4 separate regions of the Homo sapiens genome follow, and all the other regions are linked to region 3. Evidence: promoter capture Hi-C in 16 types of primary human blood cells and fetal thymus (Javierre and others, 2016). All regions are on one chromosome and are shown on one strand. The core of a region is centred on a gene start or on the middle of the fragment in contact, and the rest is flanking DNA. Distances in the headings are between cores, read along the strand shown. Region 1 has its middle 3.4 kb from the start of MIR670. Region 2 has its middle 58 kb from the start of MIR670. Region 3 holds the start of ALKBH3 (alkB homolog 3, alpha-ketoglutarate dependent dioxygenase). Region 4 overlaps TTC17 (tetratricopeptide repeat domain 17).

What was found. The method cuts DNA at HindIII sites, captures the fragments that hold promoters and counts their contacts. A CHiCAGO score of 5 or more calls a contact.
Region 1: a contact is called between a fragment that was not itself captured here and the fragment with the promoter of ALKBH3 in region 3, in 2 of 17 cell types (neutrophils and erythroblasts). The highest score is 11.9, in neutrophils.
Region 2: a fragment that was not itself captured here is called in contact with the fragment with the promoter of ALKBH3 in region 3 in 4 of 17 cell types (M2 macrophages, neutrophils, monocytes and 1 more); the score reaches 9.4 in M2 macrophages.
Region 4: a contact is called between a fragment that was not itself captured here and the fragment with the promoter of ALKBH3 in region 3, in 2 of 17 cell types (neutrophils and total B cells). The highest score is 7.5, in neutrophils.

The regions. Positions count from the first base shown.
Region 1 is chr11:43,561,687-43,564,466 of GRCh38, forward strand. It overlaps a transcript of HSD17B12 not described here. Among named protein-coding and RNA genes, the nearest start is that of MIR670, 3.4 kb to the left of the region's middle. The HindIII fragment of the contact is 2,889 bases long and covers 1-2,780 here.
Region 2 is chr11:43,500,146-43,502,888 of GRCh38, forward strand. No RefSeq gene overlaps it. Among named protein-coding and RNA genes, the nearest start is that of MIR670, 58 kb to the right of the region's middle. The HindIII fragment of the contact is 1,526 bases long and covers 624-2,149 here.
Region 3 is chr11:43,879,494-43,882,193 of GRCh38, forward strand. ALKBH3 (alkB homolog 3, alpha-ketoglutarate dependent dioxygenase) reads left to right here and starts at 1,338. Exons shown (of 10, transcript NM_139178.4): 1 at 1,338-1,686. It overlaps LOC105376644 (a long non-coding RNA gene), which reads right to left and starts at 1,244. Exons shown (of 3, transcript XR_001748200.2): 1 at 1,189-1,244. RefSeq lists an enhancer at 1,124-1,323. The HindIII fragment of the contact is 7,136 bases long and covers 1-1,792 here.
Region 4 is chr11:43,370,542-43,373,241 of GRCh38, forward strand. The region is part of intron 1 of TTC17 (tetratricopeptide repeat domain 17); the gene reads left to right. Among named protein-coding and RNA genes, the nearest start is that of TTC17, 13 kb to the left of the region's middle. The HindIII fragment of the contact is 2,804 bases long and covers 1-2,700 here.

The sequences.
Region 1 (2,780 bases), core at 141-2,640, 320 kb before region 3:
TTTTTTTTGAGAAATATTTAGCTTGGTCTAGGCTACTGACAGTACCTAGAAAGAAAAAGAAAAAGAATTATTCTTGCTTATTATTTTATAAAACCTTTACTAGACTTGGAGACTGCTGCAGCGACAGTCCAGTTAGTGGACTGGAAGACCAATCAATGAATAATGATTGACTGTTTACAAATGAGCCTAGCACGGTGCTTGACCCATGGTGGGTGTTTAATAAATGTTAGCTGACTCAGAGTATGTCTCATTATTGTGGCACTATGTTATAGTGAAAGAGCTATGAATTTGGCATCAAACCACATAGGTTCAAGCAACCATGTGGATGTATGCTCTTGGGCAAATTATTTCGCTTCTTCGTAAACTGCTTATCATACCTAAACAATGGGAGTATTCACATTATAATAGCTACCCCACACAGTTATTTTGAGAATGAAATCAGAAGTGAGTTGGCTCATTTTAAAGCACTCTAGATAAGTAAGTGATACATGTGTTTCTGTAATATGTGTGTGCACAAAGGCAGATATTAAAAATTTTTTTAAATCCTGCCTTTTTCTCTTTCCCATCTCACTCAGCAATAGGAGTAGGCATAGGTCTCTGATAGGCTGGATGGCATCCTGAGTACAGTGTAACTGTGGATAGTTTAGGCTTTGCAGCCAAGAAGGCGTGCATTCAAATCTTTCTTAGCTCTTATATGTGGTTGGTTATGTGACTTTTGATAAGTTATTTAAACTCTCTAAGCCTCAGTTTCTTGACATTTAAAATGGGGACCTACCTCAAAAAGTTATTGTGACGATTCATTGAGTTGATATTTGCAAGGCTTGGCTCAGTGCCTGGCACATACCAAATGTCTATCACTTTTATTTTTTATTATTATTTTAGCTATTATACCTCTGGACCAGGGAAGCATCAGAAAAATGACTTGGGAACATCTTATGAGGCATGGTGTGGGATGGCATTTCTACCATATGCTTTTTCTTGCTTGGGTAGATTCTTCCTTTTCTGAAATTAGCAGAGACCTCTTAGACTCTTCCACATACACAAGGTAAAGTCTATCTTCCCTATACTTTACTGAAAGCCATTGGCCCTACCAAGCAAGGGACAGGCCTAGGCAACTTCCCTGGAGCTTTCACTTCAACTAGGAACTCAACTCTTTTGTCCCAGAAGTTCCCAACTTCAGGTAAGGAGAAAGGGACTCAGTCAATGCATAGCACAGATCTGGACCTCAAGTGTGGGTGGGAGAAGATCATCTGCATTTGACTCACAGAAGCCTAGAGGGAAGACTTGAGTCTTCCCTCAGCTGAAGTAGATGTTCCAAGTCCTCCTTGAATGCTGTGAGAGCCCCTCAGTGATTCTCTGGAGGCAGGTATCACTATCTACTCCTCACCCAGGTCTTGTATTGCCATGACTTCATCTCCTAGTGGAGGACAGAAGAAAGTAATCCCTTACCTAGCCCCTACGGACTTATTAAAATTGGGAACTCAACACGAACTTCTGTATGGCCCATTATGGAAGGCCATACACTAGATTCTCAGGATCCAGTGATAACTAAAACATGGATGCTGCTTGCCATTGTAGCACTCGTAGTCCAGAGATGAGAGAGGCTTTTAAAAGTCCACATTCTCCTTTGGGTAGGACCCTTACCAATCCTGGGTTGTTATGCAATGATAAAGCCCTCGCCTGAACAATAAGCCACCATAGGCTTCTGTTTCCTATTCCAAATTTATCTGCTCAGTGTCCCATTCTGTTAAGAATTCTTTCACCCATGAGTTGATGTGAATGTGTTAATTGGTGTGGAAGTACCAGTCGTGAAAGAACAAGTTCCATCTATTAAGATCCATATTTTGGCCAGATGCAGTGGCTCACCACTGTAATCCTAGCACCTTGGGAGGCCAAGGTGGGAGGATCGCTTGAGCCCAGGAGTTCGAGACCAGCCTGAGCAACAAGGCAAGAACTCATCTCTACTAAATTTTTTTTTCTAATTAGCCAGGCATGGTGGTACATGCCTGTAGACCCAGCTACTCTGGAGGCTGAGGCAGGAGGATGGCTTGAGCCTGGGAATTCGAGCTTGCAGTGAGCTATGATCGTGCCACTGCACTCCAACATGGGTGACAGAGCAAGATCCTGTCTTTAAAAAATAAGATCCAGAGAGTTTTAGTCCCAGTGGTCATTAGTAATATTTAGTGAGAAGAACAGCCTTCTTTTATGTTTTACTGCAATACATTCTTTTTTTTTCTTTTTTTTTAGAGATGAGGTCTTGCTCTGTCACCCAGGCTGGCATGCAATGGCACAATCATCGCTCACTACAGCCTCGAAAGATAGGTGCACGCCACCATGCCTGGCTATTTTTATTTTTTGCTATGTTGTCCAGGCTATTCTCAAGCTCCTAGACTGAAGTGATCCTCCTGCCTTGGCCTCCCAAAGTGCTGGGATTACAAGTGTGCACCACCGTGCCTGGCCCAATTCATTCCATTAGGAGCCCATGGGCTGATTATTTTAGAGTGTATGGGTCCTAGAACTATAGGACTTACCCTGACCACCACATCTTGAGTATTAATAACCAGAGAGCCAGAGAAGACCTGCTCTGCAGGGAGTAGCCTCATCCTAGCCTCAGGTCTGGGGCAGGATTGAGGATTCCAATTCACTACAAAGGTTATTTGCTTCTACATACTTCTCTATATTTGCATAGATTTGGGAAATGATATAAGGGACAAGGGAAGATCAAAATAGCCACTTCATTCCCTGAAAACTCCTACTTTAGCCACTTCCCCAAAGCTAGA
Region 2 (2,743 bases), core at 137-2,636, 380 kb before region 3:
GCTAATGAAACAGAGAGGGAAAACTAAATCAGGGAGAACTCCAGCAGATAGGCAGAGAAGCTGCTTCACTTAATCTACAGAGGTACTCCCTGTCCTCTCAGCCCATCCCCTAGCCACTCACTGCTACTGACCCATGTAAAGTATTTTGAACAGGGACAGGAACACACTAGGCAGCCAATAAATGTTAGCTCTTCTTATTAGCAGAGGACTTGAATCCTGCCACTAACTCCCTAATTCTAGAAATAAGTTACCTTTTCCTTTCTGCTAAGAATTTTGTTCCAGGCTAGGCACAGTGGCTCATGCCTGTAATCCCAGCACTTTGGGGGACTGAGATGGGAGGATAGCTTGAGACCAGGAGCTCAAGATCATCCTGGGTGACACAGCAGGACCCTGTCTCTTAGAAAAAAAAAAAAGAAAAAGTTAGCCAAGTGTGGTGGCACACACTTGTAGTCCTGCCTACTCAGGAGGCTGAAATGGTTGAATTGCTTGAGCCCAGGAATTCAAGGTTACAGTAAGTTTTGATTATGCCACAGAACTCCAACCCTGGACTGAGACCCTGTCTCAAAACAAAAACAAAAACAAAAACAAATGGATTTGGTTCCATTTCTGGATTCTGACTCAAAAGCTTGAATGGTTAGGACAGTGACCCCGGCTTTTAAGAAGGGGGGCTTTCACCCAAAGACAGCACTTAATACAAACACCTATTTCCTAAAAATAGAGGAAATTTTTCTTTATCTTTCTGTTTTTCAGTTTGATGGATTTCTTCAATTCTGTCTTCTGATTCATTGACTTTCTCTTCAGCTGTGTCTAGCCTGCTGTTCAACTCATCCGTTGAGACTTTTACTTCAGTAATGACATTTTTCACTTGCATGATTTCTACCTGGTTCCTTTTCATCATTTCTATCTGCTCATGTTTCATAATCTTTTTTTGTGTTATGGGTGCTACTCTTAACTACTTGAACACTTTCAGCATACTTACTTTTCAATTTGGTCAATTATTTCTTGTTCATTATGAGTAAGTTCTCCTGTTTGTTGGATATTTGGACTGTCTGACCCTATAGCCTTGTAACCCTCTGAGTTCTCAGTCTTTGGATCACTACTCTAAAAACTGCAATTACTTTTGCACCAGCCTAATATATTCTCTCATGTTCTTAGTGATATCATCTGGTCACATGGTTTCAAATACTATCTCCATGCTTATGACCTTCCAATTTATATGTCCAGCATAATGTCCTCTATCAGCTCTAAATTCATTTATCCAACTTTCTGCTCAGTATCTTCACATGGACTGTACAAAACAGAATTCCATATCTTCTCACAAAATTATTATCTAACTTTGGTCTTCCCATATGAGTTAGCAACTCCCTCCATCTAGTTATTCAGATCAAAAAAAAAATCCTAGGCCGGGCACTGTGTGTTATTCCTGTAATCCCAGCACTTTGGGAAACTGAGGCAGGCGGATCACTTGAGGTCAGAAGCTCAAGAACAGCCTGGCCAACATAGTAAAACCCTGTCTCTACTAAAAAAAAAGTACGAAAATTAGCCAGGCATGGTGGCACATGCCTGTAGTCCCAGCTACTCAGGAGGCTAAGGCAGGAGAATCTTTTGAACCTGGGAGATGGAGGTTGCAGTGAGCTGAGATCACGCCACTGCACTCCAGCCTGGGTGACAGAGCGAGACTGTCTCAAAAAAAAAAGAAAAAATCCCAGAGTAACTATTGATTGACTCCTGTTAAAACATAAGTCAGGTCGTGTCATTCCTCTGCTTAAAACTATTGGCTTGCAATAACATATAAAACCCTATTCCACAATGTGGCTCACCTCTCTAGCTTCATCTCTTTTAATGTCCCTCTTGCTCACTCCTCCAGCCACACTGACCTCCTGGCTGTGTTTTGAAACTTCCAGTCATGCTTATGCCTCAGGTCATCTTCATTTGCCATTCCCTTAGCTTGAAATACTCTTTCCCCAGATAGCCACTTTGCTCACCTTCTCTGTGAGGTTTCCCTAATCATGATATTTTAAATTGTGACATCCTCCTCCACAATTTCCTAATCCCCTTTTATGCTTTACTTCTCTTTGTAGCTCTTATCATTATCAAGTCTGCTGTGTATGTTACTTATATATTGTCTGTCACCCCCAACTTGAACATAAGCTTTAAGAATGCAAGATTTGGACCTATTTTGTACCCTGATATATCTCTAGCCCCAGGTACATAGTAGGTATCCAGAAAAAACTGCTGAATGAATGAATGACTGAATCCATACATAAGTAGTGCTGAACTTCCTCATATATTTTATATTTTTTGTCCTTATTCAGCAGCAGTTAATGCTTGAAGTATTTTCACACATTATGTGGGGTCAAGGACATTTCCCTACAGAGAAGTTTCTGAGGTTGTCTTTGCTGCATCCCCTACAAAGTCGAACTTTTTTTTTTTTTTTTTTGAGACAGAGTCTCACTCTGTCATCCAGGCTAGAGTGCAGTGGCACAGCTCACTGCAACCTCCGCCTCCCGGGTACAAGCGACTCGCCTGCCTCAGCCTCCCAAGTAGAGTAACTGGGACTACAGGCACGTGCCACCATGCCTGGCTAATATTTTTGTTTTGTTTCATTTTGTTTTGTAGTGACAGGGTTTTACCATGTTGCCCAGGCTGGTCTCGAACTCCTGACCTCAGGTGATCCGCCTGCCTCAGCCTCCCAAAGTGCTGGGATTACAGACGTGAGACACTACACCCGGCCAAACATGTT
Region 3 (2,700 bases), core at 88-2,587:
CAGGTGATTCTGTTAAACAAAAAAAAAGCAGTAATTTCAGATGCAAGTAAATCATGGATTGATCTTTGAGAAATACACTACGTAGAGGCTGAAGAGGTGTCAATCACTACTTTTAGGAACTCCTCAATCCAGACTTCTTTGTTCCTGTTCCAAAACTATAATCATTGAAAAGAAAGAAATAACATATTTTAGAAGATACAGCCAAAGTTCCTGAGCCAGAAGCAGACATTGACAAATTAGTTGATGGGGGAAAAAAACTGTAGTGTGGCCTTAGCATTTTCTCTCCTTTCAGGTCTAGGATAAATCATTTTTTTCCTTCAGTGTCACAAAGTATAACAAATAATAATGAGTGCTGTGAAAATGGATTTGATAGTAGCAACAATATAGGTACACATTGATGAGGTGTACCTATAATGAGCTTCCTGAAGGTAAACACTCATATCAGGCTTATTTTAAAGATTTCCACAGTGACTATACTTTGGCGGATCTTAGAGAATGACTTGCATAAAACAGTCAATTCAGTGCTACTTTTGCTATTTTCATACTGTAAAGTACATGGTTTAACATGACCATTTTAAAGATGTTTCTCATGAGCTCAAATGGGGTGAGCTCTTTTTCATTTTTTGAGTTTTTGTTGTGTTCCAGGCATTGTGCTATATTCTTTAAATGCATTATCTCACTTAATCCTCCCAAAAAGAGCGATACCCATTTTAAAAAGAGGCAGAGTACTTGCCCTAGATTATACAACTAGTAAGTGGTGGTGTCTGGGCCAAAATGTAGGTCTGTTCACTCAAGCAAATTTGCTTAGCACTGGAGAGAGCCAAGGTGAATTAAGGCGTGGTCCTACGCCCTGCTGTAAATGCTGTGTTCGGAGGTGTGCACAGGCTGCAATAGGAACACAAAGGAGGCTCATTTCAGGCTCTCCGTGGTTTTTAGGATAAAATGCAAATCCTTTTGCCTAACACATTATAACCAGGTCCCCCAAACTCCTCTCCCTTTATCTAGTCCCACAGGGACCCGGTCACTCTTTCTGCCACAAAGATGCCGATGCTTGGACATCTCCAGTTTCGAGGAACTCACGTAGGAGACACGCCTTCACTTCCACCTTTGCCAAACCCCGACCCCTTCACACCGCTCCCCTGCACTCTCAATCCCTGTCCGCTGCAACACATATCCCCTCATCAGCACCTTCGGTGATTAGGCCCTCCAGGCGCGGGGGATGTGGGACTACCCGGACTGAGGACTGCGCACCGGAAGTAGTGGCGGCGCTGCGTAACGTCGAGAGGAAGTGCCTGATGCCGCGGCCTGTGATTGGGAGTTGCTGGAGTCGGTGCTTCACTCTTAAGGTTCCGATCACAGACTGCGGAGTGGGTCAGGGGCTGCGAGGGCTGCCCCAAGTCCTACCGGGTTTGCACGGGCGCGCCCGGCTCCGCCCGCAAGTGCGCCTTCCTGACTTACTGCTGGGTGCGCGGGGCTGGGGGTGCGAGTACCACCCCTGAAGTCTCTTCCTGGGCGACCTCCGGGGCCTCATTCTAGGCCTCCTTAAAGAGAAGGATCTAAATTAGGAAAAGGAAGTGCCCTTATCCACGACCAAGCTCTTCCACCTGCGGAGCTCGCTTAGTCTGCACCTCAACCGTGCGGAAAGTGACTGCCCTGTTTACTGAGGAAAAACTGGGGCTCAGAAAGGTGAAGTCATTTGCCATGGGCCATGCAGCTGGGAAGTGACAGATCTGGATTCAAAGCGAGTTCTGGCTGGCGCCAGAGTCCTTGTATTTTACAGCACTGGTTCTCAAGCTTTATGTGCATTAAGAATTCCTGGGTTGAGGGTGGCGTTAGTTAACAAATTCTGGGACTCTACAAATTGAGTAGATCTGGGATGGGGCTCTGGAATCTATTTTCAACAATTGTTCCCTGGCAAATAACATATGGCTCCCCAGTGAATGGAGCAAGAAGGTGAGCAAGTCGTATCCTCTGCGGGGACTGTAGGTAATTGTGTTACGCTTTTAGGGCCTCAATTGAGAGAACATGTCAAACGGGAGCTCCTGGGATTGGAGAATTGGTATTTGATTGTCATTAACTCTTCTGGGCAGATGGCAGCCTCTGCGTCTCTCCACCTATTAAATGAAATGAATTACATGCTTATCATCTGGGGGAACTTGTTAAACACACAGATTCCTGGGCCTGGCTCAGCTCTACTGAATCAGAAGAGGTGGGAGATGGGACCTGGGAATCTATAGTCTAAGCAAGCTATTAATATAAAACGAGCTTTTACCTTTGAGAACTTGAGGTGTGAAGCTTTCTTAGGTAGAAGCATAAAGAAATAGATTACAGATGTGGAACATGTGGCTTGAATTTCCTTGTTGTTTTGGTAGCTGTACGTGCTTCTGCATTTGCTGTAGGCTAAGCTTTTACTGGTACAACTGTCAAATTAGTATTATTAGCCATTATGAGGTGGATTTATCCGTTAGCTGGAGACAGGAGTTTAATATAAGTTGAATGTTAATCTGTCTGTTGTTGATTTCCTGAGTGGCTTTGGGTGCATCATTGAACTTTACCGTCCACATACATACCTGCATTGTGTCAAATCTTACACTGCTTGTTATAAAGACAAATACCTGTATCCATCCTAAATCAGATTTTCTGAAGGTGGGCCATAGGTATTTTGAACAAACTTCCAGGGAAGTTTGATGCAGCCAGTGA
Region 4 (2,700 bases), core at 129-2,628, 510 kb before region 3:
GTTTAAGGAAAAAAAAAAAAAGATAAAACATGTTACGTAGTGTTCTAAAGTTTCAGTGTTAACAAACAAGATGACCTGTGGATAGCACATTAAAAAAAAAGAACACTTTATAAATTTAAATAATACATGTTCACTGTAGAAAAAGTTAGAAAACACAAACAAGAAGAGAATAATCACGTAAAGTCATATCAACTAGAAACCATATTCTTAAAATATGATATATAAACTGTCAGATAGTTAAAGAGAGGGGGCAGGTTTGTTTGTTTGTTTGTTTGTTTGTTTGTTTTAAGATGGAGTCTCTGTTGTCCAGTCTGCAGTGCAGTGGCACGATCATGGCTCGTTGCAGCCTCAAACTCCTCAAGTGGTTCTCCCACCTCAGTCTCTCAAGTAGCTAAAACAGGCATGTGCCACCACACCCAGCTACTTCTAAAAACTGTTTTTGTAGAGATGGGGTTTTGCTATGTTGTTCGGGGAGGGGAGGTGGGGGGGGGGGTCTTGAACTTATCTCAGGTGATCTTTCTTTGTCCTCCCAAAGTGCTAAGATTACAGGTGTGAACCATCACACACAGGTGAGATTTTTTATAAGTACATTGTGAATGGAAAAAACATCTCAGTTTCTCCCACTGTTCTCTTACAACATGTTTCTGACACCACCAAGCAAGCAGTCAGTTCTGCAGCTGCCACAGGCTAGGTGGCTTCCAATTCAGTTCTGACATTGTCTACCTGGCAGTGGCATCAGATCCTACAGGTCAAGAGCTCAGTGCCACAAGACTCCTCCCACCCAATTCAGTCCCAGCCTCTTCTAACCAACCAGCTTCAAGTTGGGGCTCCCATAGCTGCCTCTTTGGGTTCAATTAATTTGCCAGAGTGGCTCACAGAACTCAAGGAAACTTACTTATGTTTACTGGTTTATTATATTAGAAAAGACACAGATGAAGAGATGCACAGGGTGACGTATGGGGCAAAGGGTGTAGAACTTCCATGCCCTCTCCAGGAACTTCCACATGTTTGGCTCTCCGGAATCTCCTGAACCCAGTCCTTTTGGGGTTTTATGGAGGCTTTATTACATGGGCATGATTGGCCTTTGGTGGTCAACTTAACCTTCAGCCCCTCTTCTCTCACCAGAGGTTAAGGGGTGGGGCTGAAAGTCCTAATCATGCCTTAGTCTTTCCAGGGACCTGCCCTGATCCTGAAACTACCTAGGAGCTGCCAGCCATCAGTCAACTCACTACTGTACAAAAAGACAGCACTTTGGAGATTCTAAGGATTTTAGGAGTTGTATGCCAAGAAAAGGTGGGTGGGGTGGAAGACCAAATATATATTTTACAATATCACATACACAAAAGAAATACATATGGCCAAGGAAGAGACTGAAATGTATTCATGGCCTGACGCAGCAGCTCACCTGTAGTCCCAGTTACTCCGGAGGCTGAGGTGGGAGGATTGCTTGAGCACAGGAATTCAAGGTTACGGTGAACTATGATCACACCAGTCCACTCTAGCCTTGGTGACAGAGCAAGACCCTATCTCTTTAAACAAAAAAGAAAGAAAAAATGTATATATTCACCCTTTTTTCTGCATTCCTAAGGATGTGTAGGAACTCAGTCACTGTTGTTAGGAATTTAAGTTGATTCAACTGTTCTGGAGAAAAGCTAGCAAAAACTGTAAATTTACAAATGCAAAAAAATAGTATAGTTCCTTTAACCTAACGGTTTTCTTTCTGTTACAGGAAAGAAATAATCTGATAGCTGTCTAAAAAGGTTCATGGGTTTTTTTTTTTGAGAAGGAGCCACTCTTGTCGCCCAGGCTGGAGTGCAGTGGCATGATCTCCTTTCACTGCAACTTCCACTTCCTGGCTTCAAGCTATTCTCCTGCCTCAGCCTCCCGAGTAGCTGGGATTACAGGTACCTACCACCACATCCAGCTAACTTATTTTTATTTTTTATTTATTTATTTATTTATTTATTTATTTATTTTTGAGACAGAGTTTCACTCTTACTGACCAGGCTGGAGTGCCTGGCTCACTGCAACCTCCACCTCCCGGATTCAAGCGATTCTCCTGCCTCAGCCTCCCAAGTAGCTGGGATTATAAGCATGTGCCACTACGCCTGGCTAATTTTTGTAATTTTAATAGAGATGGGGTTTCACCATGTTAGACAGGCTAGTCTTGAACTCCTGACCTTAGGTGATCCACCCGCCTCAGCCTGCCAAAGTGCTGGGATTACAGGTGTGAGCCACTGCGCCCAGCCAAAAGTTTTAGTATAGGATGTTCATTGTAATATTGTTAAAAAGGGAGAATAACCAAAAACCTGAATTTTAGTTAGGAACCTGGGTAAATAATATTAACCACTAAAAATATTGACATAGGTCTGTATTTACTGGGAAGTCTGACAAAATGTACAGAGGAATAGAGAGAGGAAGGAAATAATATAGTAGATATATTATTATCGTATTTTTGTGAAAATATTTACCTACAAAGCTCTGTGTTTGTGTATGTATGTAGAAGTTATCCTGACATGATATATATCTAACAGCAGATATCTCTGAAAGTGAAATTTCAAGTAATTTTTATTTTCTCCTTCATATTGTCTATATGGTACTGTGTTTGTTTTTACAGTAAAATATATTTAGTTTATAATTCTAAAAAAGATTTTCTTAGTATTAAGTAGCTTAAGGATAAAGAGGGCTGATTTTGCCATG